2 separate regions of the Homo sapiens genome follow, and region 2 is linked to region 1. The links are contacts of gene promoters, found by promoter capture Hi-C in blood cells and fetal thymus (Javierre and others, 2016). All regions are on one chromosome and are shown on one strand. Each heading gives the region's core, a stretch centred on a gene start or on the middle of the fragment in contact. The rest is flanking DNA. Distances are from core to core; before and after follow the strand shown.

The links. The method cuts DNA at HindIII sites, captures the fragments that hold promoters and counts their contacts. A CHiCAGO score of 5 or more calls a contact.
Region 2: a contact is called between the fragment with the promoter of TMEM238 here and a fragment that was not itself captured in region 1, in 6 of 17 cell types (naive CD4 T cells, non-activated CD4 T cells, total CD8 T cells and 3 more). The highest score is 6.9, in naive CD4 T cells.

Annotation. Positions count from the first base shown.
Region 1 is chr19:55,089,316-55,096,314 of GRCh38, reverse strand. It overlaps PPP1R12C (protein phosphatase 1 regulatory subunit 12C), which reads left to right. Exons shown (of 22, transcript NM_017607.4): 7 at 1-53; 8 at 137-264; 9 at 375-448; 10 at 712-870; 11 at 957-1,024; 12 at 1,517-1,654; 13 at 1,880-1,970; 14 at 3,082-3,162; 15 at 3,239-3,299; 16 at 3,447-3,532; 17 at 3,653-3,693; 18 at 3,771-3,873; 19 at 3,989-4,093; 20 at 4,406-4,456; 2 more. The coding sequence ends at 4,843. Among named protein-coding and RNA genes, the nearest start is that of EPS8L1, 17 kb to the right of the region's middle. The HindIII fragment of the contact is 7,228 bases long and covers 1-6,999 here.
Region 2 is chr19:55,378,543-55,385,541 of GRCh38, reverse strand. TMEM238 (transmembrane protein 238) reads left to right here and starts at 1,250. Exons shown (of 2, transcript NM_001190764.2): 1 at 1,250-1,820; 2 at 6,175-6,298. The coding sequence starts at 1,283. The coding sequence ends at 1,813. RefSeq lists enhancers at 565-634, 665-734, 688-1,650, 5,747-6,247 and silencers at 1,025-1,364, 1,655-1,744. The HindIII fragment of the contact is 6,498 bases long and covers 1-4,581 here.

The DNA of each region.
Region 1 (6,999 bases), core at 2,365-4,864:
TCCCAGAGCCGGGGCCAGGAGCCCCAAGCGCCCTCTAGCAGCAAACACAGAAGGTATAGGGAGGGAGGAGTCCAGGGCTGGCGGGGTGGCTGGAGGCCCCGGGCTTGTACCCCAGCACCCTCTCCTTCCCCAACAGGAGCTCTGTGTGTCGTCTGAGCAGTCGCGAGAAGATTTCCCTCCAGGACTTGTCCAAGGAGCGCCGGCCTGGTGGGGCTGGGGGGCCCCCCATCCAGGACGAGGATGAGGGGGAAGAAGGTCCCACCGGTGAGGGGCCTGAATCTGGACTCCTGGGTCCGAGGGAGGAGGGGTCGGGTTCTCTGAATCTAGAGGCAACTGGCATCTTCTGTGACCTGCCCGGTGTTCCCACATCACAGAACCACCCCCTGCAGAACCCAGAACCCTCAATGGCGTCTCCTCCCCGCCGCACCCCAGCCCTAAGAGTCCCGTGGTGAGTGGATGCCCTGAGAGGTCCTGTGAGGCTGGGAGGGCCCGGAGGTGGGATTCCATACAGCCTGTGAACCTCTGGCAGGGGCAGATAGGGGGAAGACTATAGTTCCCAGAGTCGTCCTGGACAACCGGCTTCCTTTTTAGGCTGTGCCTGCCCCGGGGGCTGATGGGAATTGTAGTTTGTTGCAGTCCTTTGGGGGCTAACCCTTGAGGTCTGAGAAGAGGGATCCTTTCTCTCTAACTGAGACCTCCTCCTTCTCCCAGCAGCTTGAAGAGGCCCCCTTCTCCAGGCGCTTTGGCCTCCTGAAGACAGGGAGTTCTGGTGCCCTGGGTCCCCCTGAAAGGCGGACAGCGGAGGGAGCCCCTGGGGCTGGGCTGCAGCGCTCGGCTTCCTCCTCCTGGCTGGAAGGGACCTCCACTCAGGTGAGTGAGGGTTGGGCCGGGTCCAGGCCCAGGCCCCTGCCCAGTCGAGGGAACTGCCCCTTCCTCCCCTTCTCCTCTCCACACAGGCCAAGGAGCTCCGTCTTGCCAGAATTACCCCGACCCCCTCCCCGAAGCTGCCGGAGCCCTCTGTCCTGTGAGTCCCCAGGGCCTGGGCCCCTCAGGGGTGGGTGGCAGATGTGGGTTCCAAGCCTGTCCGTGTGATCCTGAGTGAGACCATGTACCCCCTGGGGTCTGGTTCCTGCCGCCACTCCAGAGCCTGTGCTGTGTTCCTCTTGGGGGCTCTCTCCCTCCCTCAGGTCTGTGTTGAAACGTCACCTTCTCCCCTATCTTCCCCCCACCCCGAGGTGCACACTGACCACCCTGCTGCCACCACGGCGCCGTCCGCACACGCACACCCTCCCGCTCTCAGTTCTCGCACTGCTGCTTCTGTCCAGAGTCCTTTATCCTTCTGACCGGTTGCGTAGTGTGCTGGTCTTTTCATGGCTTTTGTGGGTTTTGTGTATTTCTGCTCAGCTCTGACTCTGTTGTGGCCCAGATAATTTGTTTCTTTCACTCACGGCTGCATCTCCAGTGCCGGCACACAATGCACCTGGGTAATGTTTGTGGAATGAATGAATTGATGCAGGTCTGAGGTCACCAAGCCTCCTCCTTGCTTGGAGAACTCCTCGCCTCCCTCCAGGATTCCGGAGCCTGAATCCCCAGCGAAGCCAAACGTCCCCACAGCCTCCACGGCGCCCCCAGCGGACTCCCGGGACCGACGGAGGTGAAGAGGCCAGGGCAGGAAGCTGCCGCCCCCGCCCCCAGCAGGGAGAGACGATGTGAAGCAGGAGTCCCGGGGCTTTGGGTGGGCTCCTGAGGGAGAGCTGGCCTCAGGTCTGCTGGGAGTTGGAGTCCCCTCCCACAGAACTTGCTTCCCGCGGAGGGTGTCAGCCACGGAATGGGACAGGGTCCCCAGGTTCCCTGTCTGAGGTTGGGACCCTTCCCTCAGGTCCTACCAGATGCCTGTGCGGGATGAGGAGTCGGAATCCCAGAGAAAAGCTCGCTCCCGTCTCATGCGCCAGTCTCGGAGGTCCACACAGGTGTGGGGTGGGCTGGGGTCTGGACTCCTGGGTCTGAGGGAGGAGGGGCTGGGGCCTGGACTCCTGGGTCTGAGGGAGGAGGGGCTGGGGGCCTGGATTCCTGGGTCTGAGGGAGGAGGGGCTGGGGCCTGGACTCCTGGGTCTGAGGGAGGAGGGGCTGGAGGTCTGGACTCCTGGGTCTGAGGGAGGAGGGGCTGGGGCCTGGACTCCTGGGTCTGAGGGAGGAGGGGCTGGGGCCTGGGCTCCTGGGTCTGAGGGAGGAGGGGCTGGGGCCTGGACTCCTGGGTCTGAGGGAGGAGGGGCTGGAGGTCTGGACTCCTGGGTCTGAGGGAGGAGGGGCTGGGGCCTGGACTCCTGGGTCTGAGGGAGGAGGGGCTGGGGCCTGGGCTCCTGGGTCTGAGGGAGGAGGGGCTGGGGCCTGGACTCCTGGGTCTGAGGGAGGAGGGGCTGGGGTCTGGGCTCCTGGGTCTGAGGGAGGAGGGGCTGGAGGTCTGGACTCCTGGGTCTGAGGGAGGAGGGGCTGGGGCCTGGACTCCTGGGTCTGAGGGAGGAGGGGCTGGGGTCTGGGCTCCTGGGTCTGAGGGAGGAGGGGCTGGGGCCTGGGCTCCTGGGTCTGAGGGAGGAGGGGCTGGGGTCTGGGCTCCTGGGTCTGAGGGAGGAGGGGCTGGGGCCTGGGCTCCTGGGTCTGAGGGAGGAGGGGCTGGGGTCTGGGCTCCTGGGTCTGAGGGAGGAGGGGCTGGAGGTCTGGACTCCTGGGTCTGAGGGAGGAGGGGCTGGGGCCTGGGCTCCTGGGTCTGAGGGAGGAGGGGCTGGAGGTCTGGACTCCTGGGTCTGAGGGAGGAGGGGCTGGGGCCTGGACTCCTGGGTCTGAGGGAGGAGGGGCTGGAGGTCTGGACTCCTGGGTCTGAGGGAGGAGGGGCTGGGGCCTGGACTCCTGGGTCTGAGGGAGGAGGGGCTGGAGGTCTGGACTCCTGGGTCTGAGGGAGGAGGGGCTGGGGTCTGGGCTCCTGGGTCTGAGGGAGGAGGGGCTGGGGCCTGGGCTCCTGGGTCTGAGGGAGGAGGGGCTGGGCCCTGACCCCAGCGTCCCCTGACTGTCCCCTTTCCCTGCCAGGGTGTGACTCTTACAGACCTGAAGGAGGCAGAGAAGGCTGCAGGGAAGGCCCCAGAGTCAGAGAAGCCGGCGCAGAGCCTGGTGAGAGGGGTCAGCGAGGGCGAGTGGGGTGGTGCGGGATGTCCTGCTTCCCTGACTCGCCTCCCCCTCCCGACAGGACCCTTCCCGAAGGCCCCGCGTCCCTGGAGTGGAGAACTCTGACAGCCCTGCCCAGAGAGGTGAGGTCTGCTCTCGGGGAGGTCATTCCCAGGGAATCATCCAGTTTCTCCCATAGTCTTCTTGCTTTCCTGGGGGCTTGACCCGGGGACCCAGGCACCGAGAGGGGGCTCTGGAGGTGCCTGGGCTGATTCCTGCCCCTCCCCCAGCAGAGGCGCCCGACGGGCAGGGTCCGGGACCGCAGGCGGCCAGGGAGCACCGCAAGGTCGGAAAGGAGTGGAGGGGGCCTGCGGAGGTGAGGGGCTCAGGTGGGGCCGAGCTGGTGCAGAGGGTGGGCCGGGGGGCGGGCAAAGCCCTTCCCATACCCGCTAAAGTCCCTCCCATACCCATTGAACCCCCGTCTACCTGCCCACAGGGGGAGGAGGCGGAGCCGGCTGACCGCAGCCAGGAGTCCAGGTAGGGGCGGGGTGGGAGAGGTGGGGTCTGCGTGCGGGCCGGGCCGGCCCCTGACGCGCGCTCCTCCCCTGCCCCAGCACCCTGGAGGGCGGCCCCTCGGCCCGCAGGCAGCGGTGGCAGCGGGACCTCAACCCAGAACCTGAGCCAGAATCGGAAGAGCCAGACGGAGGCTTTAGGACGGTGCGATCCCACCCCTCCGTCGGGGCTTTGCCTGCTGGGTGCCCAGCTTCCTGGCTTCCCCGCCCCCCCAGCATCGCCCCATCCTCCACCTGACCCTCCTCTACCTGACCCCCAGCTGTATGCAGAGCTGCGCAGGGAGAACGAGCGGCTTCGCGAGGCCCTGACCGAGACCACGCTGCGGCTGGCGCAGCTCAAGGTGGAGCTGGAGCGGGCCACGCAGGTAAGGGCGCCGAGGCCAGGGTCACGGGAACTGGCAGGGCCGCCTGGGTGGGGCTTAGACTGCTGGGAGGTAGAGCCTGGCCTGGGGGTGCCGGCGGGGCTGGGCTTCACTTGAGGGGCGGGGCCGAGATCTCGGAGGCGGAGTCTGAGCGAGGGGATGGGGCTGTGGGCCTGCCGGTGGCGGGGCCTGGCCCGTGGGGGAAGGGCTTGTGGGCTGCCTAGTGGGCGGGCGGGTGCCCAGCAGGAGCCTAGGACCCTTCAGAGCAGTGCTGGCTTCTTCTGCTGACCCCTGTGCTTTCTGTGTCCTCACCAGAGGCAAGAACGCTTCGCTGAGAGGCCAGCCCTCCTGGAACTGGAGAGATTCGTGAGTAGGGGCAGTGGGGATGGGGGCCAGAGGCGTCCCCAGCCTCACATCCCTAAGTTTGGACCAAGGGAGCCACATTGCCCTTCCCAGCTGGCCCCTGGCCTTCCCCTGCCCTCCTCAGCCTCACTCAGTTTCTGCACTTTCCCTGTTCATTCCAGGAGCGCAGGGCCCTGGAACGCAAGGCCGCAGAGCTGGAGGAGGAGCTGAAGGTGGGGGCTGTGGGGGCTGTGGGCAGAGGGCCGAGGGTGGGTGGGGGTGCAACCCGCCAGGGCTGCCCAGCTGACCCTTGCCGTCCCCCAGGCCCTGTCTGACCTCCGCGCTGACAACCAGCGCCTCAAGGATGAGAATGCAGCGTTGATCCGCGTCATCAGCAAACTCTCCAAGTGACCCGGAGGGACTTTCCCGCACCCGTATTTATACAGCTGCTTCTGCCACACGCACCCCTTCCCCCGTGTGAACACGAGTGACAGGGCTCCGGGGGAAGTCTCAGAGAAGCCATAGCCCCCCTGGGACCTCCGGACTGGGAGGGGAGCAGAGTCCCCAGGAGCCGAGGGGGCCACCCGAGGCCAGGATGGAGGTGGGAGGCCGAGCCAAGCAGGGGGACGTTGCCAGAGGGGACCAGGGCCAGAGACGGGACCAGGAAGGAACTGAGGACCAAGAAGTGCAAGGATCAGTAGCCAGGACCAGAGTGGCCGCCTGGAGGTCCCCATCTCACGTGTGATGCCACCCCGTCACCCCTCCCCTCCTGAGCAGGGATCCAAGAATGTGCCAAGAGTCCCGCCAGCCTCAGCCAGGTGGGCCTGTATATAGGGTCCATGTGCAATAGGGAGGGACGTCTTCTATTTTTTGCTGCCCCCTCCCCGCCCACTGTCTGGGGCAGGGGGAGAAGGTATTTTCGAGATAAAGCACAGGCACCACAAATAAAAGTCGTGAAGTTGCCACTCAAGCTCTGTGTTCCCAGCCAGAGGGAGGGCACTGTTTCCTGCTCCTGCTGGGGGGCCGTGCGTGTCCATGACCAAACCACTGGGCCACTTGGGTGGGTGCCGGGGGATGGGCTGGTGCTTACTCACCTGTGTGGTGAAGGAGCTTCAGGATGAGCCCCCAGCGGGAGCGAAGGCTCCAAGACGGAGCCCGCGTGATCGCAGGCGGGGGGCTGAGGGGAAGCTGATGGGGCAGGAGGGATCAGCGGGCAAGACCTCTGGGGCCAAGGATGTGGAGCTGGGGAGTTTGGGTTTTGCCATCAGTGTCTTTGAAACAAATTTAGTCAATTGCCAACATTTAACATTTGGAGAAATTTGTGTGTAAAAATCTGGAATTTTGGCCGGGTGTGGTGGCTCACGCCTGTAATCCCAGCACTTTGGGAGGCCGAGGCGGGCAGATCATTTGAGGTCAGGAGTTCGAGACCAGCCTGGCCAACATGGTGAAACCCCTTCTTTACTAAAAATGCAAAAATTAGCAGGCGTGGTGGTAGGTGCCTGTAATCGCATCTACTCTACTTGGGAGGCTGAGGCAGGAGAATCGCTTGAACCTGGGAGGCAGAGGTTGCAGTGAGCCAAGATCGAGTCACTGCACTCCAGCCTGGGCAGCAGAGCGAGACTCCATCTCAAAAACAAACAAACAAACAAAAAACAAAAAGAATTTTGCCTTCTTTTGAAAGAACAGGAATCTGTGACAATATGAACTTTTCAGTCCTGCATAGCCACCGTTGACTAGAGCTGAGTAGGAGCCATCTTCTGAGATGAGGCATTCATTCAACAATTAGTATAACACCAACAGGAAGAACAGGACTGAGTGAGTACAGTGTGACTGATCATTACTGAACAAAACAAAGATCCAATACTTTTAGGAGGGGGGCATCCGATGTTAAAATAAATGTATTTCAAGGTGGCGGCGCTCTGGAGAAAAGAAAGGGGTTGGGAAGGTGGGTGCACGTGTGTGCACATGTGTTTTGAATAGAGTGGTCTAGGCAGGCCTCAGGGAAAAGCTGGTGCAGGCAGATGGTTGAAGGTGGTGGAGAGGGAGCTGTGTAGGTATTTGAGGGAAGGGTGCTCTGGATGATGGGAGCTCTGTGTGTGGAGACCCTGGGGAGGGAGCTGTGTAGGTATTTGAGGGATGATGGGAGCTGTGTGTGTGGAGGCCCTGGGGTAGGGCACCTGGTGTGCTGCAGGAAGCTGAGGAGCTGGAGAAAGCAGGGAATGAAGCTAGAGAGGTCACGGTGGCTGTGTGGAGACTTGGCCCTGGGAAGGGCTTGAGCTGTGAGATTGGAGCTCTGGGTGTCTTTTGGAGCATGGCCATGGCCTGACTTAGGTTTTAACAGGTCCCTCTGGCATGGAGAACAGGCTGGGGGTTGGTGGTGAGGATTGGGGGGACCAGCTAAGGGTCTACTGGTGAAATCCAAGCAAGAGAGAGGGTGGCTCTGGCTGGGGTGATGGGAGTGAAGATGGTGAGAGATGGTCAGGTTCTGAGAATATTGGAAGATACAGCTGCCAGGATGTTCAAACAAGCTGGCCTGTGACGGGGGTAGGGCTGAGGCCCGGCTGGCT
Region 2 (6,999 bases), core at 1-2,500, 290 kb before region 1:
TAGCCCCGGCACCTTTGGATATTTCCGGTCTTCGTAAGCCCTCGCGGTGATGGCCAATGAGGGCGCCGAGGCCCGCTCGGGTATTTTCGGAACCCTCCGGAAACGCTCTTGGGAGAGGTGTGTATGTTCGGAAATACTCCGTCTTCATTCGGAATCCCTCGGCTAATCCTGGCAGCCCTCTTGCAGTTCGCCCTCCCCAGGGTTTTCTTGAAATAAAACTCTTAAACTGTTTAAGCCTGGGGAGAACCTACACGGAAACTTCTCGCTGACTGCCACCCCAGGGGAGCGCGGATGCCCTCTAAGGGAGAATTGTTTGGAGGGAGGGAGATTTGCATGTGGCTTCTCTTGGCTCCCTTTAGGATTCTATAGATTTGCCGGTCCTCTTCCCTGCCCTCCACCTGTGCCTCCAGCCTATGGTGTGCCTGTCACACCCCATCAGCTCCCTGGGAGGTTATGATCCGTTGTCAGGGCCACCCTAAGGGGGCAGGAGCCTTGCCTGATATTTCTCTGTGTCCTCGGCCTCACCCACGCGGCATGGTGCTGGGGAGGCCTCAGAGACTCCTACTGAACAAAAGGAATGAGGGTGCCTGTGTCACCTCCCCAGGGCTCCTTAACTTGCGGTTACACCCGGGCACTCCTTGGGGCAGGGGCTTCGTCTGGTCCATAGGACTATCCTCCATAGGACAGTCGGGGTTCGCCCAGCTTCCTCCACGGGTGCGCTCTGGACCTGATGGGTCTCGTCCGTCCTTGTGCCCGTGGCTTCATTCGCTGAACACAGGAGACCCCAGAAGACACGCGCTGAGTGAAGGAAACTCAGCTTCCGCGGAACCCGGAGCTTCCCCTCTTAGATCACCCCGACTACTGGTTCTCGCGTCCCAGAGCTCCTTGGTGTCTAAAGGCCTTGTCTGATCTGCACTGTCTGATCTGCACAGGCTTCGGGAGGCGGACACTGAGCAGAAACAACGCCACGCCCGGCTCCGAGTGTCCCATGCTGCCACCACTAAAATGCCCTGATTTTTGGCCATATGTGACCTCCCTGGGTGGCACGGGCCCTAGGCACCCGTGGCTGTGCGCCTGGCTACCACCAGCTCAGGCCTCTGAGCAATAGCCCCTGCACGGAAACCACGACCAGGGTAACCCCGGCCGCGCCGGTTCGCGCCCAGCCCGGTTCAGGTGACCAGGCGGGAGCTTGGCACACCTGGCGCCGTCCCCTGACCCCGCCCCGGACCGGGCCGCACCCCGGAACGCTCTCTCTGGGCGCCAGCGGCGGCGGTGCAGGGCCATGGCGGCGGCGCCAGCGGTGTGCGCCTCGCAGGGGAGCCCGCCGGGTGCACCGTCCGCGCCGGCGGCCGCGCCAGCACCCGCGGCCGGCCTGGGCCGCTGCCGGATGGCGCTGCTGCTGGCCGTGGCGCTGGATGTGGCGGGCATGGCGGCGCTGCTGACCGGCGTGTTCGCGCAGCTGCAGGTGCGCGGCCGCGACTTCGGGGACCTGCTCATCTACTCGGGCGCGCTGCTGGTGTTCCTGAGCCTGCTGGGCTGGATCCTCTGGTACACCGGCAACATCGAGATCTCGCGCCAGGAGCTGGAGCGCGACTACGGCCTGCGGCCCTCGGCGCTCGCCCGCCTGGCGCGCAAGCTCTCCCGCCGCTGGTCGGCGCCCGCCGCCGCGGGCCAGCGCCCCGCGCCCGGCTCCCGGAGAGCGCGCCGAGCCGCCCGCGCGCCCCCGCCGCCCGCCGCCGGCTCCCGCCGCGTGCGCCTGCAGCTCGCCACGCTCGAGGCCGGGCCCGGGGCGGCGGGCGCGGGCAGCGAGTGAGGCCCAGGTGAGGGGCGGGCGGGGCAGGGCGGGGAGACGGAGGGACCGAGGGAGGGACGGGAATGGAGACAGACGGGGGAGCGATGGACAGATGGAGACAGAGAGCGGCCATGGGGAGGTAGAGTCCCAGGGCGGGGTGGAGACAGGGACGGGAAGGCTCTGGCGGAGAACCGCAGACACAGCAAGCACAGGTGCATACGTGGGGGAGGCTGTGAGACCCTGCCCCTGGAGATGGGAAGTGTGGGGGTCGAGTCACACAGTTAGGCCCCCCGCACGGGGAGAGCCCCAGCTTCCAGGTACACCAGGCCCCATTTTTTGTTTTGTTTTGTTTTGTTGTCGTTTGGGGTTGTTTTGAGACAGGATCTCTCACTGTCACCCAGGCTGGAGTGCAGTGGCGTGATCTCAGCTCACAGCAGCCTCGACCTCCTAGGCTCAAGCAGTCCTCCCACCTGAGCCTCCCAAGTAGCTGAGAATACATGTGCGCCCCACCTTGCCGGGCTAATTTTTGTATATTTAGTAGAGACGGGGTTTTGCCATGTGGGCCAGGTTGGTCCCCACCTCCTGAGCTCATGCGATTTGCTCTCCTCAGCCTCCCAAAGTGCTGGGATTACAGGCGTGAGCCACTGAGCCCAGACCAGGCCCCATTTAATCCTCTCCATGTAACTGGTCTCCAAGGTCACTACTATTACCATCCCCATTCTGCAGTGGAGGAAACTGAAGCGCAGAAAGGCGCCACATTTGCCCAAGGCCACACAACACGTAGGTGGAGGAGCTGGGATTCTCCTGACCTGTAGGCCTAGGAAAAGAGGAGCTGGGATTCTCCTGACCTGTAGGCCTAGGAAAGGAGGAGCTGGGATTTTCCTGACCTGTAGGCCTAGAAAAGGAGGAGTAAGAAGGACCAACAGCAGGAGAAATGAAGCCACCACACATTCACTCCCCTTTCCCCTCTACCTTCTATCTCTTTCCTAAACACACCTTTCCAGCTAGCCTGCCTCTGCTCAAAGACCTGCTGTGGCTCCCTCTTCACCTTTGGTTAAACTGAAGCACTCACTGGCCTGTGGACCCCCCATATTTTGGCCCCATTTCTCCTGCCTCTCTGCACTAATGGTGTCTCTTAGTCCACAGATAGCCAGTTGGTCCCTGTTCCTGCTCTTCTCTACACCAGGAGTGCCCTTGGCTGTCTCCACTCCACCCAGAAAACTTCTCACATGTTTAAGATTTAACTTAATTTCTCTGGGTCTTCTCTGGGTCTTCATATTGTCTGAGCGACCCCTCTTGCTGCTTATATGGCCATGTGCTGTGTCTATGTTGTTACTGTCTCTCCCACCTGACAGGGAGTGCCTTGAGGGTAAGACCTAGGTCCCTAGCGTCCTTGTTCCTAGCATTGCCCAGCAAAAAGTGTGAAATCAGGAAAGGTTGATGGTTGGGTAGGGAAGTGGAAGGATGGATGGAAGAACGGATGGCTGGATGGGTGGATGGGTAGATGGATGGGTGGATGGATGGATGAGTTGGTTGATGGATGCATGGGTGAATGGATGATAGATTGATAGATGGGTGGGTGGGTGGATGGGTAGATCGATGGGTGCGTGGATGGATGAGTTGTTTGATGGATGGATGGGTGAATGCATAGATGGGTGGGTGGTTGGATAGGTGGATGGGTAGATGGATGGGTGGATGGACGGGTGAATGGACAGATGGGTGGGTGGGTGGATGGGTGAATACATGGGTTGGTTGATGCAGGGATGTGGTTGGATTGACGGATGGATGGGTTGTTTAATGGGTAGATATGGGTAGGTGGTGAATTGGGCAATGAACCATGAATGGATATGGTTGGAGAGGGAGCCCTGCCTGATAAAGGGGCAAGAGCTTTTCCTGATACTTCTCTGTGTCCTCGGCCTCACCCATGCAGCATGGTACTGGGGAGGCCTCAGAGACTCCTACTGAACAAAAGAAATGAGGGTGCCTGTGTCACCTCCCCAGGGCACCTTAACTTGCGGTTACACCTGGGAACTCCTTGGGGCAGGGGCCTCGGCTGGTCCATAGGACTATCCATAGGACAGTCAGAGTTTGCCCAGCCTCTGTGCGCTCTCTGGATAGATAGGTAGATGGGTGAATGGGTAGTTGAATAGATGGTTGGGGCTGAATGATAAGTACACAGATGAGTGGATGAATGCATTTAATGGCACATGGATGGTTGGGTGACTGAATTCATCTCTCAAATAGGGTTTTGGTAAAAGAATTAAACCCTATTATCCTAGGACGTTCTATGTAGGTAAATAATTAACTTTTTTTTTTTTTTTTTTTTTTTTTGAGATGGAGTTACACTCTTGTTGTCCAGGCTGGAGTGCAGTGGCGCAATCTCGGCTCACTGCAACCTCTGCCTCCCGCGTTCAAGCAATTCTCTTGCCTCAGCTTCCCGAGTAGCTGGGATTACAGGCATGCACCCCCACACCTGGCTAATTTTGTATTTTTAGTAGAGACGGGGTTTCTCCATGTTGGTCAGGCTGGTCTCAAACTCCCGATCTCGGGTGATCCGCCCACCTCGGCCACCCAAAGTGCTGGGATTACAGGCGTGAACCACCGTGCCCGGCTGGAATTAACTTTTCTCCTATGCATCCAGAATGCTACCAGTTATATATTATTCTTTGTGAGATTTGGGGAAATAGTCACCCCAATCATATGCTACGTGCCGTGATTCAGTGAAGGAACTGGGGTAAGAAAGCATGAACATCTGCTTGCACGGGTGAAGCGTAAGCTAACATGAAGCTTGGCATAGAATGCAAACATAAGCACCTGTAGTTACTGTTACCTTTGGAAATCCTGGCTGAGCACAGTGGCTCATGCCTGTAATCCCAGCACTTTGGGAGGCCGAGGTGGGAGAATTGCTTGCTTGAACCTGGGAGGCAAAGGCTGCAGTGAGCCAAGATCACGCCACTGCACTCCAGCCTGAGTGACAGAGTGAGAACCCGTCTCAAAAAAAGAAAGAAAAGAACATCCTTTATGAGGTTGGGCATGGTGGCTCATGCCTGTAATCCCAGCACTTTGGGAGGCCGAGGCGGGTGGATCACCTGAGGTCAGGAGTTCGAGACCAACCTGGCAACCATGGTGAAACCCTGTCTCTACTAAAAATACAAAAATTAGCCAGGCATGGTGGCGGACGCCTGTAATCCCAGCTACTAGGGAGGCTGAGGCAGGAGAATCACTTGAATCTGGGAGGCGGAGGTTGCAGTGAACCAAGATCGTGCCACTGCACTCCAGCTTGGGCAACAGAGCAAGACTCCATCTCAAAAAAAGAAAAGGAGAGGAGAGGAGGGGAGGGGAGGGGAGGAGGGGGGAAGGGGGAGGGGAGGGGGAAGCAGGGAGGGAAGGGGGGAAGGGAGGGGAGGGGGAAGGGGGAAGGGGGAGGGGACGGGCAAGGGGGGAGGGGAGGGGGGAAGGGGGGAGGGGAGGGGAGGGGAGGAGAGGAGAATCCTTTACGTAGCTTAAACGTCTAACACAGCTGCACAGGCCTCCACTCTTGGAGCCTCCACCAAAGACTCAGACCACACTGACTCGAACGTAGGCCCCACTTAGAGGAAAATGGGCCTGTTCAAACCCAGGACTCTTGTTTACTGGGGAGAGTGAGCAGCTTCCAGCGCATGAAAGACAGAGAACCTGAATTTTAGCAGAGGGACCCACAGGTTCTGGCTCTGGTACCCCCACAACCTCCGAGACCACCATGAGTAGCCGGGCAGAGCCACCCCCATCACTCTGTTGTTCAGGCTGGAGAGCAGTGGTGCAATCACAGCTCACTGCAGCCTCCACCTCCTGGGCTCAAGCAATCCTCCCACCTCAGCCTCCCAAGGAACTGGGACTACAGGTACCAGAGACGGGGTCTTCCTATGTTACCCAGGCTGGTGTCAAACTCCTGGGCTCAAGTGATCCTCCTGCCTGCAGCCAAAATGCTGGGGTGAGGGTCTGAGATGAGGACCACGATGCCCGGCCTCCTTCTGTCTTCACTGTGTCTGCCTGTCTCCCTCTCTCTCACTCTTTGTCTCTGTGTCTCTGTCTCCCAGGTCTCTTTCTTTGTCCCTGTGCTTCTGCCTTTCCCCTTCTGCATGTCTTCGTCTCCCCCTTTCTGCCTCTCCCTGGCTCGCATTCCCTGGCCTCTACCCTTGGATTTCAGGGCGTTAAAGGTACACACGCATGCACACACTCAGCAAATGGGGGCATGCAGGGATGAAGGAGCAAGTGTGTGAGTCCATGTGAGCGGCAAGGGCAGGCGGATGGGGCTCCCTGCCTCTGCCCCCGCAGGCAGAGAGCCCGGAACAGGGATGGGAGGGGTTCCTGAGCAGTCGCTCACTCCACCCTCCCTCCTGCAGACAACCCCTTGGCTCCAGCTGTCAGGACCAGACTGAGATGTGCAGCTGCCCCTACATCCGTGGCCAGACGGACGCTCCCTGTACCCCCTCCCTCCTCACTTGGATAAAAAGCAGATTTGCCTTAGTGCTGCATGTCTGTCTGGGAGAGGGACCCTGCTGGGGTGGGAATGGAGACGAGGTGGCTTGCTTCCTTCTAGCACCCAGGTGGGCCTGGCCACACCTGAGGTGAGGCTGCCCCTGCCCTGGGGAGACCAGGAGCCCTGGGGATATAGGAGCCTAGCCTTATGCTGGCCCCTTCTCAGAGGGGGCCAGAGAGGGGGCGGGGGATAAGGATCTTAGCCCAGACCCTCCACTCTAAGCCCCAACATCCCTGTGTGAGTTTGGGTTCACTGAGAAGCAGACACAGAGACAAACTGGACTTGCAAGATATGTCTTGGGGAAACACTTTTGTAGGGTAGCTTGGTGCAGGGAGAGGGAGGGAGGGATGGGTAGGACTAGTCTTAGACTGTACCGCACCTCCAAGAAAATTGCCACTGGCCCCTGGGGAGCTGGGAGCTGAAGTCATCGTCCATGAGGGAGGCCCCTGCCCTTCGAGAAGGCACCTGTACCCGGAACCCCCACCCCTTGCCTCGCCATGCTCAGTTATTGGTGGAGAGCAACCCATGGTAATCTAGGTGCATCTGGGGTGGGGGCGGGGGGCACTGTCAGTCACTGGCACTCCATGTAGGAGACTGAGGGGCACGTTTCCACAGCTGTGGCGTGCCCCTCTCCCCACCCAGTCCAGGCACCCCTCAGACCCCACCACCCCCACATACCCCCAACTCC